Regions from separate parts of the Homo sapiens genome. Here region 2 is linked to region 1. The links are contacts of gene promoters, found by promoter capture Hi-C in human tissues and cell types (Jung and others, 2019). All regions are on one chromosome and are shown on one strand. The core of a region is centred on a gene start or on the middle of the fragment in contact, and the rest is flanking DNA. Distances in the headings are between cores, read along the strand shown.

What was found. Contacts are between HindIII fragments. The study calls those that stand out against the background at their distance.
Region 2: a contact is called between a fragment that was not itself captured here and the fragment with the promoter of COL1A2 in region 1, in 1 of the 25 tissues and cell types used here (dorsolateral prefrontal cortex).

Annotation. Positions count from the first base shown.
Region 1 is chr7:94,391,132-94,396,815 of GRCh38, reverse strand. COL1A2 (collagen type I alpha 2 chain) reads right to left here and starts at 1,921. Exons shown (of 52, transcript NM_000089.4): 1 at 1,715-1,921. The coding sequence starts at 1,784. COL1A2-AS1 (COL1A2 antisense RNA 1) reads left to right here and starts at 4,624. Exons shown (of 6, transcript NR_147206.1): 1 at 4,624-4,698; 2 at 5,283-5,411. The HindIII fragment of the contact is 19,147 bases long and covers 527-5,684 here.
Region 2 is chr7:93,282,453-93,288,857 of GRCh38, reverse strand. All of the region lies in intron 12 of VPS50 (VPS50 subunit of EARP/GARPII complex), which reads right to left. Among named protein-coding and RNA genes, the nearest start is that of VPS50, 53 kb to the right of the region's middle. The HindIII fragment of the contact is 7,220 bases long and covers 122-6,405 here.

The sequences.
Region 1 (5,684 bases), core at 672-3,171:
AACATCTGTTGCAACAGTCACAATTTAGGAGGGTGGACCACATCCAGCACTGACATTTAAGGGCAATTTACGAGAATTACTGTTAAATTACAAGAATGATATGTTTACTTCATTGTGTCCATCAGTAGGAAGAATAATTATGCCTGACTTGATTAACGGAAGTCCTTATGATTTTGGAAATTTGCCTTTTAATTACTCAGACATGGACCATTTTGAAGAATGTGTGTTTGATAACATTTATTCCAGACTGTGGTTGGCTGTTGATCAGAAGGTAAGTTGCCTTTGTACCTTCAAATTTCCCTAAGTCTGCCTTCATTTTATTCTCTAGGAGCCGACTCTTTCCTCCCACTCTCAAGATCTCATTAAAAATATGAACTCGGTAATGTGAATTTGTTCACTGCAATTACTCCTTAGTATCCACAGTATGTATACTAAAAGTGAATGAAGGGGGAAGAGACACACAGACACACAGACACACACACACACACACACACACACACAAGCACACAAATGCATTAGAAATTATGCAGTGGTAGACACCGTGCTGTGTGGGTGGAACAACTTTTTGGAGTACTGGGTGTGGTCAGACAATACCATCCCCCATCTAGTCAATATCTTTGTCTAGCACTTTGGCAGCCATTTTCAAGATGAAAACGGACTGATCTTCTTCATTCTCTGTTGACATGAAAGTCTGGCCATGGAACCTAGAGCTGGAAAGTGGCCTTGGGGTCCCTTTAATCTCTGTCTCACATTTTAGAAAAGGCCGTTTGACTTGCCCAAAGTCACGCAGCAAATTGGTGTCAGACTCATGGGAAAAACCCCGGTCTCTTGAGTCTCATCTCAATGTTGATATTTCTCAACTTGCTGCGTTCATAATGTTTGCTTATCACTGGGAACATGTCAAAGGGGTAATTCTCAGGCTCAAACAAAATTTAGAGCAGATTTGAGTTAAAAAATGTTACCATTTCCATGACTAGAAAGTGAATTGAGACACTTATATTACTTTTCAGAATGTACCCACTCCAAGTAGCATCCATTCTTCTTTCCAGGGTTCACTGACTAGCCACTGGGAAAGGCTCCAACCAGAAATGCTGATCATTAATCTGTATAAATCCGTAGAAGCTTTAATTGGGATTCCATCTGCTTAAGGCCCTGTCCCCTGTACTTTCATTTTCCTTCCTCCAGAGGGCGCCTTATAACCATCATCATATCAGCATCGTCATCCTCCTCCTCCGGACAAGCCTTACAATGCCCAGAAGATAAAAGCTCTTAGGAGGTGAGTTTTACATTACTCAGTTGAAGGGCTTTCTAACGCAGGCCTCAAGTTTTACAAGGTGGACATCAGTGCGGTTATGGGGCCTGTGGGGTGCAGGCCCTTGACTTCCTCCACCACATTGGTCGTTAATATCTCATCCTTAGGGAAAAAGACCTTCCGCTCCCTTTGGGGGTTACTAAGCTGAGGAGCCAGACCGAGTTAACTGTCTCACTCTGAACTTAGAGGAAAAGTTCCCTAACTTTTGGCAAGGCTTTTATGTTTTCATTTTTTAAAGTAATTTCCATGTTTCTTATCAATTCCGGCGTTTTCCCACATGCCTGAGAGTCTGCCCTCCAAGTGTACCTGGAATTCAGGTTACAGGTTTTCCTTTTCAGGGCAGGGTGCCCTCCCATCTAACCTCTCTACCCAGTCTCCCCCAAACAAGCTGAAGGCACTTACATTGGCATGTTGCTAGGCATAAGGTTACTGCAAGCAGCAACAAAGTCCGCGTATCCACAAAGCTGAGCATGTCTAGCACTTAGACATGCAGACTCCTTGTGTCGCAGAGCCCCTGGGTCACCGGCGGAGGTATCACCTGGCGGGCGCGGGCATGCAGTCGTGGCCAGTACCTCCAACTTAGCCGAAACCTCCTGCTGCCGTGGTGCTAAAATAATAAAGCCCGGATCTGCCCTATTTATACGGCAAAAGTTTCCCTGGCCCTAGGGTGCCTCCAAAAGGGCCTCCACCAATGGGAGGGCTGGGGCTGGGGGCCCGGGCAGCCACAGCTGGGAGGAGCCTGCGGGGGCGCAGAGGAGGGAGCGAATGGGGGAAGGGACGTGGCCACGGGGCTGGCTTCTTAAATTGGTTCCATTCTTTTTGAGGACGTGGACACTTTTGAGGCTTTCAAGGGGAAACTCTGACTCGTTGTCTGCATACCTCCGCCCTCCGCATCCTCCCGCCCTCCCCCGCCCTTTCCAAGTTTGGAAACACTATGGGACACGTCGGAGTGCTCTGCAGCCCCGACATGGGCAGAATTTGCAGATCTCCGGCGATCAAAGCAGGAGCTGTCCAGTCCCGCCTCACCTGTGCCCTGTAGGCCACTTGTAGGGTGGAGGGCTCCAGCGGGAGCGGAGGGGGCAGAGAAGGAGGGAGGGAAGACTCGATAGCGTGGCGCAGCCGGAGCCCGCCTCCCCGCCCCTCCACCCCTGCACCCCGCCCCCAGCCCCGTCCAGCTTTTCTCTAGCTTTGGGGCTCGTGTGCGCCCACTGTTTCAGCAGTGATGCACTCTCTTTGTCTTATGACTTCGGGAAAGGGCGGGTCCTGTCTGTGGAGGGCTGGGTTGCAGTCGGAGGGCGCCTTTTGTTGGCAGGTGGGCTGGGGAGCAGGCTCGAGGCTGCTTGGCACCCGGCTACAGGGAGGATAGGCTTTGCGAACTCTAGACTAGACCGAGTCACCTGGGGAAGTCCTTCGACCTCCTAGCTTGCCTTTGCTGAGGCTCATTCCAAAGAGGGTCTTTTGGGGGATGGTCTGGCACTCCGACACGACTCCAACCGACCTGGAGACCGAGAACTTATTTCTCAGTCTCTCCTTTCTGAGGCTGCGGTGGGGGATCTTTCATGGTTTCCAGTCTCCCCTCCCCTTCTCCATGGGCTCCTTGTCTGGATTTACCAGTTCTACCCTGAGCCTGGACCCTTCAACCCTCCCGTGAGCCCCCCGGTCCCTCTTGACCTTGCTGCTTACTCTCTGTCCCATCTCTTACAGCCACACCCAAGCACCTCCCCTAGCACATCCAGAGGCCCTTCTGATTCGAGCTTGGGGTCTTCGTAGTCTTCGCTGGTAACACCCCAAGCAGTGCGCCCACCAACGTGGATGTTAACTCTCTCCCCAGCACCCAACTTCCCTCTTCTCTGGCCGCCTCCATCCAACCCTCCACTCCCTACTAGGGAGAGGAGGAACTGGTACTTTGACCCTGAGGTGGGAGGCCAAAGGTCCTGTGCCTTTTTCTAAAGCCTCTTGGGATGGCATTCCAGGCCCTAGGTTTGAAAGGCTGTGTGTGTGTGTGTGCGCGCGCGCGCGTGTGCGTGTGTGTGTGTGTGTGTGTGTGTGTGTCAGGCCTCTCCTCTACTTGCCTAAGGTCCCCATGAGGCAGCGGGGGCCTAGTTAGAGTGCTGCTCTATCCCAGAAGTCATCGCAAAGGGGGCATCTTTAGGTCAGTTCTGTCTCTAAGAAACAGAAGCAAGTGGGCTGTAGTTCCCTGAGAATCTTTTTCCCTTCCTTCCCCCCACCCCCTCCCCGCTTTTTTTGCTTTGCCTTAAGGAAGAATTTCTGCAGAAGTTAACTCCATCAGCAGCTTCTGTAAATAAAAGGGACTATTCTAAAGCAGGTTACTCTTTCTAAATGTAAAAGAAGAAAAAAAGGTTAATGCAAGTAAAAGTGGATAACCAAAAACTATAATAAACTCTTGTTTTATTCTAATTAAAGGCACTCACTTGGGAGACCACTTTGGATGATTTTTTGAAGTAACTGGGAGTGAAAGAATTTGAAAGGGTTACTGGTCATTCCTAGAAGGGGGTTTACAGGGAGCAATCCACATTCAAATTTTTTTCTAACTAGGCAACAATGTTTGAAGTTTTCTAGGTTCTAGGAACAACAACAACAAAAGACCTGAGGTTGAATTGTATATTCCAAGAACATTTTTAACATTTCCCTGAAATATCACCGTTACAGAACTAACAAAAAACTTTTAAAGTGGAAATCATTTTTATCAGGAAAGAAAAACTTCAATACTACATCATAACAAATTTTTTTCTGCATATCAGAAGAGTGAGAAATGATTTCTAAGAATCATTGTTACCACTGTGCTGAATTACCTTTGCAGGGCATATGTGTGTATTTGTCCTGTGTTGCTGAGAGTCAGAGACTAATTCTGAGCAAAATGACTCAGGGTGGTAATGCAACAGATTTATGAAAGAAACCCTCCAAATACCCTTCAGTGAGGTTATCTGATAACGCTTCTGGGGTCAAGTTGGCTCAATCATTGGATTTGCAATAGATATCCCAAGTTTTAAACATTTCATTGTAGGTTTTGTTGTTGTTGTCAAAATAGTTTAAAACATAGAATGTTTTTAGAAGTGTGATTATAATTTCTCTTTTAGCCAAAAAAGAAAAATCCTCAGCAAGTTTTTGAGAATTAGAGGACTGTAAATTGAAGCAGACATCTATAAACTTAGAGGGAAAACGTCTCTGCTAAAGGCAGCAGAGTGAACTGATAACTTGAAAAGCATTCCTGGAAACTGATGCAAATACCAAATGCCGCTGTGCTCCCTCCCTGCTGATGTGGCAGGGTTTGAAGCAGGCAGCCGTCAGCATTTGGTGGGAGGCCCTGGACCTAGAAACAAAAAATGAAAGTGGAGAAAACCAAACAAGAATCTTTCTTTCTTAAAGTGAGAATCAAGTTCTAATTGCAGCTGTTTTTCCATATAACTTGGGGGAAAATAGTTGATTAGGTGTTTGTTTTAAAGGAGGAATTTTTAGTGGTCAGTTAGATCTCTGTTAAATATTTTTGTGACTCCAAATAAGGAGCAGTTTTTCCTGGGGATGGGGGTGGGACTGGTAGAGCTGTGAGAGCTGACCCAGAACCTGAACTGAATGCCCTGGTGAGGGCCCTGATGGTTCTAGTGTGGGGAGAGGGGAGAGGGAGGGAGGAGAAAATGAGTAGAAGGAAAAACAAGTAAGGGGTGGGGTGGGGTCAAGACTGAGAGTAGAGGGATGGAAGAAGGGAGGCAGAGGAGACTAAAGATTCCTACAACTTTGGTGCTAGACGGTTAATACCTGGGTTCCTATGCCCAAATTATTTTCTATGAAAGAAAAGATAATTTCTTTAGCTTCCTATAACCCACTGATTACAAACTGGGCCACATGTTTATATATGGCAAGAAAATGGTTGAGAGTCTGGCTAATACAGAAATGCAGAACAGCCTGACGAGGCCCTGATGTCTTAATCTTATATTCCTTTCTTTGATCAAAGGTAAACATCGGACTGACATCTCCTTTCAAACATTCATTGAGGATCTACTCTGTGAGAAGAAGCAATACCATGTTATCTCATTCTAGTTCCAGTTCTAGTTGACTTGATTGTCAAACGACTGCTAAGAAGGTATTTGCTGAGAATTAATGTGGTAGCTGAAGAGTTAAGTGCTGGTTTTTAATTTTGTATTTATTTATTTATTGAGAAGGTCTCACTTTATCACCCAGGCTGGAGTGCAGTAGTATGATCTGGGGGCACTGCAGCCTCGAATTCCTGGATTCACGTGATCCTCTTGCCCCAGCCTCCCTAGTGGATGGGACTACAGGTGCATGCCACCATGCCAGGCTAATTTTTTGTATTCTTTGTAGAGATGAGGTTTCACCATGTTGCCTAGGCTTTTCT
Region 2 (6,405 bases), core at 2,482-4,981, 1.1 Mb after region 1:
ACCGACTCCCTTCTCACTAGTAAATGTTCACTTTTCTGACTCCACTAAGCCCCTGCTCAACCCCTTCCCTCATTTTCCCTTTAAAAAATGCCCAGTCACCATTGTATAAATCAAAGTTGAATCAGTTCACACTGGACTCTTTTCCCTATTACAATAATATCTTCTGATTAAAACCTGTCCTCAACACTTTAGTATCTGGCTTTATCTTTGACATCATATATGCTCTGTTGGCAAGGCTGTGATGAAACAGGCACTCTCATACATTGCTGATGCAAAATAGTACAATCCCAAGGAGGGGAATTTGTCACGATCTAACAAAACCTACGTGTGTATTTTTTCTTCAACCTAGCAATTCTACTTCTAGGAATTTATACTGAAGGTATACCTCAAACAATGTGAAAATACATATGCACCATGTTATTTATTAAAGGATTATTTGTAATTGCAAAACACTGAAATATATTTAAATGTCCAAACACAGGAGATTGGTAGAACATTATTCATACATACAAAAGAGTACTTTGCAGCTGTGAAAAACAATTTTGGGTAATCTCTCACATTTACTTCTATAATCGCTACCCTTACAATGAGCCAGTCTTAATGTTTTCCCTTAGTGATATGGTTTGGTTGTGTCTGTCCCCACCCAAATCTCACCTTGAGTTGTAATAATCCCCATGTGTCAAGGGCGGGGCGGTTTTCCCCATACTGTTCTCATGATAGTGAATAAGTCTCATGAGATCTGATGGTTTTGTAAGTGAGAGTTCCTCTGCACAAGCCCTCTTGCCAGCAACAGGTAAGATGAGACGTTAATCCTCATTTGCCTCCCGCCATGACTGTAAGGCCTCCCCAGTCATGTGGAACTGTGAGTCAATTAAACCTCTATCGTTTATAAATGACCCAGTCTTGGATGTGCCTTTATTAGCAGCGTGAGAACAGACTAATACACTTGGTTTATTTTTAGCACAAAATTATACCTGACATACCTCTTACACCATACACATATGACGAAAGCCAATACTAATGCACAGGGTCAAGAAAAGACTAAAAACCTTTTCCAAGAACAAGGCAAAGCAAAAATCCCAAAAAGTTCTGGGCTGCAACTCAGCAATCATACCCAAATAAAGGTACTCCTCTACAAGTCAGTAGTTCTAACTTTTATTAGCCCAACTTCGCATAAATGTGTATATTATGCAAACAAATTTAATCTAAGTATAGCTCAACATTCTTTCTGGTAGATAAGAAAAAGGCAATGTTAGTCATATTTTTTCCCAAAGAAAAATTATGACTGTACAAATAATTGTGTTATAATTAATTTCTATTATACTTGTCACAGTTTAACAAACCAGAAAATTAAAACTTAAACCTACTATCTTCTATTTTCCACCCAACCACTGTCCAGCTCATTATATGCCTATTTATTTGAAAAAAAAAAAAAAGAGGTCCTTCATTATGTTATCTCTTGAGGATTTGCTGAAATTTAATGGGTTTGGATGAGATATACACACACAGATGTTTATGTGAATCTTTTTTTCATAAAAAGTTAAAGTTACTTAGTGAAGCTATAGCAAGGCTTTCTTCTCACTGAACTGATTCAAGTGTAAATAATCCAGAGATCTAGCTAAACCACTGCACATACCTAAATGTCTCCCAAAAGGACCCAAATTTATTATCTTCAAATATATTCACATGTACAAACATAAGACTATGATACACGCAGCACCAGCAAACAAGATGATTCTTGCCTAAGTTCATATTCTAAAAAAGGAACAAACGTAAAGACCATTTTATTAAATACATATACAATAAATAGTTTAAGGAAAAAAGGCAAGGTGGGGTAGTTTTTTTTTTAAAAAAAAAAAAAAAACAACGTTTTCAACAAATTTAAGCCCAGCTATGTTAATCTCTGAAGGTTATACTGGCAATAAGTTAAAAGAGTTATTTCATTTTAAAATTGAGCCCCTTTCCATTATGCCATGCAACCAACTGGTGTCAATTGTCACAGTGACAAATGCTTCTCATGCTTTTAACATCATTTAACTAAAATTATTTGCAACTAGTATTTTCTACTTTATAAAAATGACCTCCAAATTTCAAATCGAGAATTTTATTACAAAGACATGAATGAATCATAACCAGAGAGATTCAATGAAGCCAGAGAATAAGCAAATAATTACACAGGTAATCAAAAAATAAAAGGCAGGCTAATAAGAGGAACCTGAGTGTTCCACCCAAGCATCAATTCTTCACATCTGCAGAGCATAATGGAAAGAGACCTAAATTAAGAATTGGAATCCCTGGATTCCAGCTGGCACTAGTTCCACAAACTTACAGTCGCATGCCTTAGATAATAAACCACTCTGGTTCTCAGCTTCACCTTTCATAAACGTGTTAGAGATACTTGTATCTTCCTATTTCATCACTGGTTGAAGTCATTCATTTATTACTAAATACCTAACATTGAAACTCAGTTCAGGTGAAGGGGAGACTCATTTGGCATAATACTAGGAATATCATAGCAGAGGAGCACCATATTATAATCCCAGTTCTATGTTCACATCACATATGGAAAATAGCAATGAAAGTATTGATTGAATCAATTTACAAAATATTCACATAGTAAGACATCCCCAAGAGCTAAATAACATATCTTGAAATTTTTTTAAGAATAGATAAGAAATCGAAATTTAATTACCAAATATTTCCCTGTGTTCTAAAACTATTTTCCACTGCTACTCTTCCACTTAAAGCTATTAGCTTCAATTTATTTAGCAAAGACTGTAAAGTGAGGGGAAAAGATAAAATAGGCATATAATCTTTGGGAAATATCCCAAGAAATGCACAGAAAAAAAAGGAAATTTTAACCATCCTAATTTAAAAAAAATCCATAAACTCTATAACAGAGACAACATACATGTCTAATAAATTTGGCGATCATAAAAGGTAAACAAATATCCTAGGAGGAAGGATTTGGAGAAGATGAAGAAACTGGATGTTCCATGCAAGAAGCTCACAGCATTTCCACTATGCTTCACATTCCAACGCCACAATTCATTCCTTAATCCAATTTTGATTAACACTTTCACAAAATCCACAAATCTGATTTCCCATCTCTTATCACTGTCAGTTCACAGTAACACTTGGCACCTTCCATTTCTTCTATTAACCACCTCAGCCAACCTACCTGGTTAAAATAAAAATGATGAAACTAGCTTATCAAAACCAGCAACATCTCAGTCTTGATTATAAAATATAAGTTGAGGCCATTTTCAAAGAACAGTGTAAATCCAGAAATTAATATAAGCAGCCTTTATAAGTTTGAAGCACACAATAAAAGAATGTCATCTTCTGAAAGTTATTTAAATGCAAAGTAAAGTAGTAAATACGGGAGGAAAAGCTGCTAGTCTTTTGCTTTTTATTCTATAATTTACTTTAATACTTATAAGAAATCTCTATTACTAAATCCCTACAAAAATTTCAAAGTAATGCTTTTTATATTAGAGCATCAAAATGAAAAGTCTTAGGGATGGTTGTAATGAATTATTTTGTTCTTATTCCACGTTTTGATTTAGCACTCTAATCACATCCTAACAAACATAAAGGGAACAGATGTTTTGGCATCCTCACAGAGATCCAAAATTCCCAGTGCCTCCACCCCCCAAAACACACACACAGTGATAGATGGATTTCAAAAAACAACAAAGGGTTGGTTATCAGTATCTTTAGATGAATGCTGTTAGTACTATGAGCTCACATCATCAGAAGCTGCTGGGGAGAATCCTGCTTATCTGAGTGGCTTCTGAAAATATGCTGCTGGTCAAAACAGCACCAGGCCCAGGGAGTTGAAAACATCTTTGGGGGTAACTCTGGACCTATGGAAGTGTCTGAGCCAGTATCTAATATTTAATTACTCCAATATCTAATTACTTCTGTGAGGGCCTAGCTGTATGAAATATGATTATCTTAAGAAGTTTCCAGCCATTGGAAACCAGAGAGGTAGTACTGCATAGTGGAAAGAGCACTGAACTAGATGAAACATGTTTGGGCTTGGAGCCCAACTTTGTCACTTACTTGATCATGACTCCTGCATAGCAATTCATGTATCTAAACCCCAAGGGTTAAAGCAAATCTCCTAGAGTCCCTCTGAAGCTTTAAAAGCTATGAGTCTCCATAGACAAAAATATGCATATGCTTTTAGCAAAACTTTCCTTGCAACTCACTGGATTCATTCATGATTTAAAAACAAATATAATCGGGGAGAAAAACACTCATTCTCATCTACGGCATTTTATCATTAATGCTAAATATGTATATACACATAAGACATGTAATATGTATGATATAAATAATCCCAACTTGGAATTAAGTAACTAGCACCCGTTAAATTGTGAAATAAAAAGTTCTTCTTTAGTTGGCAGGTTATTCTAATTGCTGTTAAATGGCCTTAATCAAATAGACAGCTCAATATTAGAAAACAAGCAAAGTATGTATAATCAGAATATATAATTATCTTTCAAAGTTTCAAGTTATAAGATGCTATTAACCCTCACGCTGCCTGAGATCACACAAAAAAAGGCAGTATTTAAATATAAAAACACTATCAAATAATCAGGTGTTTGGGAGGTTTCAAAAATGGTTTCCTGTTGGGCAAGGTGGCCCAAAAACGGTTTCCCACTAGTAAATTATTTTTTCTTTCTGCTGGAAGCTGTGTGCCACCATATAAAGATAGGTTGGCTCTTTTTTATCTCCAATCCAATCCCCCTCCCTAAAAAAATCATCCAGCAGTCTAAATTACATTGATAATGTTAAGAGTTCTTAGACATGAACAATATAGAGGCCTTGCCAGACCTGGAACACCCCTCCACTTCCAGCCAAGACAGTTAACACTAGTTACTCAGATAAATGGTTACCCAAAGCATGTGCTCCATAGGCACTCATTATTCCCTGGGTGCATTAGAAACAACCAAACCACCATACTAAAAAATCCGGTTAAACCAAGCCAGACAATCTACTATTCCTTTCACCTGCCCTGTGCTTTCCTACTCTCATGGCATTGCTCATGATATTTCCTTTCCATTCCTGGACACACACTGTTCCTGTTGTGCCTGTTGAAATCTAAGACCCAACTTTTTCCTCCCTTGCAAACCTTAAAGAGATATTTTGACTCCTTGGATACTTTATGCCATTTGACCTTTTCTTATTCTACCTCTGATCATAATTAATGTGACCTTAACTAGATTATTACTTTAAAGTCTTATTTGTCCTTGCTGATCTGAACTGATGACTGAGTAAGAAAACTGACGACTGAGTAAGAAAAGCTCAGTAGGCCAGGCGCGGTGGCTCACACCTATAATCCCAGCACTTTGGGAAGCCAAGGCAGGTGGATCACCTGAAGTCAGGATTTCGAGACCAGCCTGACCAACATGGTGAAACCTCGTCTCTAATCAAAATACAAAAATTAGCCGGGTGTGGTGGTGGGAGCTGTAATCCCAACTACTTGGGAAGCTGAGGCAGGAGGATCACTTGAACCTGTTGAACGCGGGAGGTGGAGGTTGCAACGAGCCAAGATCACGCCATTGAACTCCAGCCCAGGCAACAGAGGGAGACTCCGCCTCAAAAAAAAAAAAAAGAAAAGAAAAAGAAAAAAGCTCAGTAATGACAAGTGAACTGGTTTACACTTAACAAGTTATAGTGCTAAGAATATGAAGTCTGTGTCTTCTACCAGCATCCAGGAAATAGTAACAGGCTAGCTTATTAATTTGCAAGTAGAATAAAATTTCAGACTCCTCACAATTTTTGATGATCCAGAGAGAAAATGGCAAGAAAAAAAAGGAAGAAACAAATAAACTTTCCTTACCTACCTTTTGGTCATTAAGTTTTAATTTTAAAAATTATCAAAACCTACTTAATTTAGAAATCATTACATAAAATTATATACTACAAAATTAGCTAGGCACTCCATATATGTGATAAGAATAAATCTGACAGCTGAATTCTTAGTTCATTCTGAAACTGACCTGAGCAAACCAAGTAAATGATAATATTCTTTGAAGTGAAAAGGTTTCTCTCTTCAACCAAATATTCAAATTTGTAGCATTCAGCAAGAAAGGTCTACTCACCTATTCAACCACATCAAGCAAATTAACCTCAACAATCAATGAAACGTCGTTTAACCTCCTTACCATCCCAAACATGACTGATTGATATGCAACACAAATTATTTTTGATATGCTACCTCTGGCATCTGATAATTATGGTATTAAATAAAAGATAATCAGCATTCATGTGCTCAGGGAAAGGGATAAATGCAGACTCTGCTGATCAGGAGTGTAAATTGAAATACCATTTTTTATAGGGCAATTTAGGAAAGACAAACCAAAAGCCTTTAAAATGTAAAGCTTTGACAGA